Regions from separate parts of the Homo sapiens genome. Here region 2 is linked to region 1. The links are contacts of gene promoters, found by promoter capture Hi-C in human tissues and cell types (Jung and others, 2019). All regions are on one chromosome and are shown on one strand. Each heading gives the region's core, a stretch centred on a gene start or on the middle of the fragment in contact. The rest is flanking DNA. Distances are from core to core; before and after follow the strand shown. Region 1 holds the start of PLA2G4C (phospholipase A2 group IVC). Region 2 overlaps CARD8 (caspase recruitment domain family member 8).

Evidence for each region. The method cuts DNA at HindIII sites, captures the fragments that hold promoters and counts their contacts. A contact is called where the count stands out against the background at its distance.
Region 2: a contact is called between a fragment that was not itself captured here and the fragment with the promoter of PLA2G4C in region 1, in 4 of the 25 tissues and cell types used here (dorsolateral prefrontal cortex, mesenchymal stem cells, mesendoderm cells and 1 more).

What each region holds. Positions count from the first base shown.
Region 1 is chr19:48,109,392-48,112,142 of GRCh38, forward strand. It overlaps PLA2G4C (phospholipase A2 group IVC), which reads right to left and starts at 1,426. Exons shown (of 17, transcript NM_003706.3): 1 at 1,096-1,426. RefSeq lists an enhancer at 1,242-1,401. The HindIII fragment of the contact is 42,556 bases long and covers 1-2,751 here.
Region 2 is chr19:48,243,027-48,245,777 of GRCh38, forward strand. The region is part of intron 3 of CARD8 (caspase recruitment domain family member 8); the gene reads right to left. Among named protein-coding and RNA genes, the nearest start is that of CARD8-AS1, 11 kb to the right of the region's middle. The HindIII fragment of the contact is 5,679 bases long and covers 1-2,751 here.

The DNA.
Region 1 (2,751 bases), core at 176-2,675:
CTCCCGAGTAGCTGGAAGTGCAGGTACATGCTACCATCTCCAGCTAAATTTTTTATGTTTTGTAGAGATCAGGTCTTGTTATGTCACCCAGGCTGGTCTTGAACTCCTAGGCTCAAGAGAGCTTTCCACCTTGGCTTCCCAAAACGCTGGGATTATAGGCATGAGTCATCGCACTCGGCCAGACATAGGCTCTTAAAGGGGTGACTAAGTTAAAGTGGGGTCCTGAGGGTGGCCTGGAATTTGGTTTGATTGGTTTATTTTATTTTATTTTTTTTTGAGATGGAGTCTCGCTTTGTGCCCTAGGCTGGAGTGCAGTGGCGCAGTCTCGGCTCACTGCAAGCTCCGCCTTCCGGGCTCACGCCATTCTCCTGCCTCAGCCTCCGGAGTAGCTGGGACTACAGGCGCCCGCCACCACGCCCAGCTAATTTTTTGTATTTTTAGTTGAGACGGGGTTTCACTGTGTTAGCCAGGATGATCTCGATCTCCTGACCTCAGGATCCGCCCGCCTCGTCTTCCCAAAGGGCTGGGATTACAGGCGTGAGCCACCGCGCCCAGCCTGATTGGTTTTATAAGGAGAGATTAGGGCCTCTGCAAGAGGCTTCAGGAGAAACCAACCCTGCCAACACCTTGATCTTGGACTTCTAGCTTCCAGAAGTGTTAGAAAATAAATTCCTAGCCGGGCGCGGTGGCTCACGCCTGTAATCCCAGCACTTTGGAAGGCCGAGTGGGGTGGATCACGAGTTCAGGAGTTTGAGACCAGCCTGGCCAACATGGTGAAACCCCATCTCTACTAAAAATACAAAAATTAGCCGGGTGTGGTGGTGTGCGCCTGTAATCCCAGCTACTCGGGAGGTTGAGGCAGGAGAATCGCTTGAACCCCGGAGGCGGAGCTTGCCGTGAGCCGAGATCGCGTCACTGCACTCCAGCCTAGGCGACAGAGCGAGATGCTGTCTCAAAAAAAAATAAATAAATAAATAAAATAAAATAAAATAAAAAAGAAAAAGAAATCCTGTTATTTAATTGCACCCAATCCCTGGTACTTGGTTATGGCCGCCCCAGCGGGATGAAACAGCCCTCCCTGCCCCCACGGCTTGCCTGAGCCTGGGTCTGGGGCGTGTGCGCATGCGCGGTGGAGCTTGTGCTCCGGAATCCGGTGCGGAGGCTTGGGCTCCCTGCGCTTAGCGGTGTAGTCGCTGGACAGCTCCTTCAGCCGGAATCTCCGCGGGTGAAGACTGCGGGGATCCTCGGTGCCAAAGCTTCTGTGGTCCTCCTGCTTTCCTTTTCCCCCTGTGGGAGGAGGTCGCGGGCTGGAGGTGTTTCCTCCTGGTCCTGAGCAGGGCCAACCTGGAGGTAAAATGGCCCCTGCGCCTTTAAACAGCCCTCCTCGGCTTGTAGGCCCTGCTTGGTTGCTCCAGCTTTTTCAGCTGTTCCAGAGCTCACCCGGAGCTATTTTCATCCGTGGGATCACGTGGAGGGCTGGGACTTTCCAGGCTTCCTTAGTGATGTCACCCTTCTGTCATTAGGCACCCGAGACCAGTATTCAAAAAAAGAATGTTGTCGTTATATAACTATATTGGAGATAAGTATTCCTCAAAACAGATTAGCTAATCCTCCTATGCATCTGGCTGTCTAATAACCATCATATATAATATCATACTCAAATACCCAGAAAAAGAAATATTGAGGCCAGGCGTGGTGGCTTACGCCTGTAATCCTAGCACTTTGGGAGGCTGAGGCAGGCGGATCATGTGAAGTCAGGAGTTCGAGACCAGCCTGGCCAACATGGTGAAACACCTTCTCTACTAAAAATACAAAAATTAGCTCGGTATGGTGGCGTGTGCCTGTAATCCCAGCTACTACTCGGGAGGCTGAGGCAGGTGCTTCATCCTGGGAGGTGGAGGTTGCAGTGAGCCAGATCCTTAGGGCCAACTCTGGTTCATTTAATGTCCATTTTTAGAAAACCTGTGAGCTCCATTCACAGTGAAGGTTTGAAGCCCAGAAGTGGCCTCCCAACAGGGTACCACATTTCCCAGCACCTTTGCAGCTAGGTGTGGTCATGTGAGCGAGTTATGTGGTCATGTGACCGAGTTCCAGTCAGTGCAATCGGGCATCTGTGGGGAGCACCGCTTCCAAGAGTGGCTCCTAGAAACCTCCCATACTACCCTCCTGCCTACTCTTCCTGAAGCCCAGCACTAAGCGTCATCCCAACTCGATGGGTTTTGAATTTTTTTTTTTTTTTTTTGAGATGGAGTCTTACTCTTTGTCGCCCAGGCTGGTGTGCAGTGGTGCAATCTCGGCTCACTGCAACCTCCGTCTCCTGGGTTCAAGCGATTCTCCTACCTCAGCCTCCCGAGTAGCTGGGAACATAGGCATCTGCCACCACGCCCGGCTAATTATTTTTGTATTTTTAGTAGAGACAGGGTTTCACCATGTTGGCCAGGCTGGCTCGAACTGCTGAACTCAAGTGATCCACCTGCCTCGGCTTCCCAAAGTGCTGGGATTACAGTTGCGAGCCACCGCACCCAGCTTGAATTCTTATTTTTTAAAAATAGATATGAGGCCATAATCCTAGCACTTTGGGAGGCCAAGGCAGGAGTATCACCAATTTTAGAACAGGATTTCACCAGGGGGAAGATGGTCTCCCCTGCTCCCCCTAACGCCAGGCTCACCTCTTCAGTGCCCGCAACTCCAACCATCGCAGGATCTTTTCACTCCTAGACCTGACCATGCCACTGCCCCGCCTGCGGGATA
Region 2 (2,751 bases), core at 252-2,751, 130 kb after region 1:
GACTCTGGATAACAGAAAAGATAATTAGTGAAATACAAATCATTAATTTGTAATTAGTCACCAGGCTGCTCCACCTCCCAGGTTCAAGCGATTTTCCTGCCTCAGCCTCCTGAGCAGCTGGGACTACATGCGTGAGCCATGACGCCTGGCTAATTTTTTTGTATTTTTAGTAGAGACGGGGTTTCACCGTGTTAGCCAGGATGGTCTCGATCTCCTGACCTGGTGATCCTCCCGCCTCAGCCTCTCAAAGTGCTGGGATTACAGACGTGAGCCATTGCCCCTGGCCCAGAGAAATAATCTAAAGATTTGAATTCCAAAACCCTATACAAATGTTTTATTTTACCACCACTGAATTTATCTGCAATAACTGAATGTCTATTTATATGCATAATAATCACTCACAGGTTCCAACTAAACAAATATTTCTATCCAATTTTCAATAAAAATATTAAAATCTGCATATTTAATTTATTCATGTTTAATTATTATGCTTCTCACAGCCTGCGAAAAATTTAATTTAGCTATCCTCTGAACTACAAGCTTTTCCTTTGTTATAACGAACACTTTTCTTTTACTTAAGTATCGTTATTCCAGAGTTAATATAGTATGCATTCAAATTACTTCTTATTTAGTATTATTTTACCTAGTACCATTATATATTTAATTTTTTCTCATGAAGCCAGGCACAGTGGTTTGTGCCTGTAGTCCCAGCTACTCAGGAGGCTGAAGTGACAGGATCCCTTGATCCCAGGAGATTAAGGTCGCAGTGAGCTATGATGGCGCCGCTGCATTCCAGTCTGGGCGACAAAGCAATACCTCATTTCAAGAAACGAAATGGAATTTTTTCCTTATAAGAATCTTAAAGAAGGTGTACATTATCTTGGCTAACTTTCTATAGGATTAAGTAGAAGTTATTGAGACTTGGTCTACAGTCTTCTTTTTTTCATGAGTCAAAAAGCATCTCTCACTTTAGTTACACCTGTATTAGGAGAGTTATGATCAATTACAGCAGTTGTAGTTTCTGAGAACTTGGATAAATACAAACCTGAATTACACAGAATTTATGTAAATCCAGATATTCAAAAATGAGAAATAATGTAATATATGACCAAAGTAATATCAAGACAACATACAATTAAATCACTCAACAATTACTGGGAATATGTATCAAGGCAAGAATTGTAAAATTCTACCTGGTACTTCTGAAATGAACAAGGCAATGAGAAATAACAGTTTATCTTGTCTATTACTGAGTATCAATGAAAGCAATAAGGTGAACGGAAAAGTCCATGAAAACTCCATTTTCAGAATAATGAGGAGACAGATTTAATTCACAGATCCAAATGTTTCTCACCGGCTGACAAAACTGTGTTAAGTCAGGGTGAAGCATGGCGGAGGAACAGGGAGGAAGTGCAGAGTGAGAAAACATAAAGAAGTCAGGAAGTGCCAGAGGAGTAATTTCCTGTGAGTAAAGCCTCATACTCGGTGATTTATCTATAGAGTTTGAATACAAGAGCTGTGAGGTCTGGGCAGGTAGAGTGGAGGCTGAGCAGGAGATAAATGTGGTAGAGGCGGTGTGGATCCTTGAAAACAGAGAAATGCCCTAATGTGACAGAGTACAGAAATACTACAAAAACACACTTGTAGAAAGAACATTCTGCATATAATCAGGCATGGAACGGTCCCATGCATTCCATAATAATTAAGAAAAAGATATTACCAGAGCATTGCTTAAAGGCACTACAAGAAAATAGGTGAGAAGACCAGGAAGTTGTTGTTTTTTGTTTTGTTTTGTTTTAGATAAAGAACAATCAAAGGAAAATGATGGACCCAAGTTAACAATCACTCTTGGGGGGAAAAAAACTCCACCCACAATTCCTAAGTAAAAAGGATTACACACATTCTCGGCATAATATGTCTCTCTCAGGCCAAAGGATAACCTTGTGCTTCATGTGGACACTATGAAATCATTCCAGCTGAAGTCAGGAAAATACCAAGACCTTCCCTATTTAAGTTAAAATATCGGAAGCTTATTCCAAAATATTGGACAAATTCCAAATACAGTGATTGAAAGGAAGGAGATTAAACTATAACTCACTACACGTTATTTTCCTCTATAGAGAAACATAACGAATCACCTGAAATAAGCTACAAAAGTAAGATAAACCAGTAAGTTAGAGAAAGAATCTTTTTTTTTCTTTGAGACGGGGCCTCCCTCTGTCGCTCAGGCTGTAGAGAAGTGGCACAATCTCGGCTCACTGCAACCTCTGCATCCTGGGTTCAAGTGATTCTCCTGCCTTAGCCTCCCAAGTAGCTGCGATTACAGACATGCACCACCATGCCTGGCTAATTTTTTTTGTATTTTTAGTAGAGATGGGGTTTCACCATGTTGGATAGGCTGGTCTCAAACTTCTGACCTCAGGTGATCCGCCCACCTCAGCCTCCCAAAGTGCTGGGATTACAGGTGTCAGCCACCGCACCAGCCAGAAGAATCTTAATATACAAAAGTGAATAGCTTCTTAATATAACAGACTATCCCAATTCCATGAAAGAAGAAAATACACTCATTAAAATAGCAACTATGGTACCTAGAACTAAACTATACAAAAAAACTACATGACCCATATAATGCTTTTATTTTGAAATAATTTTAAACATTGAAAAATAGCAAAGATTCACATAAATCCTCAACCAGCTTATCTGAATGTTAGCTATATATAATTGTATTATATATAAAATAATTGTTATATA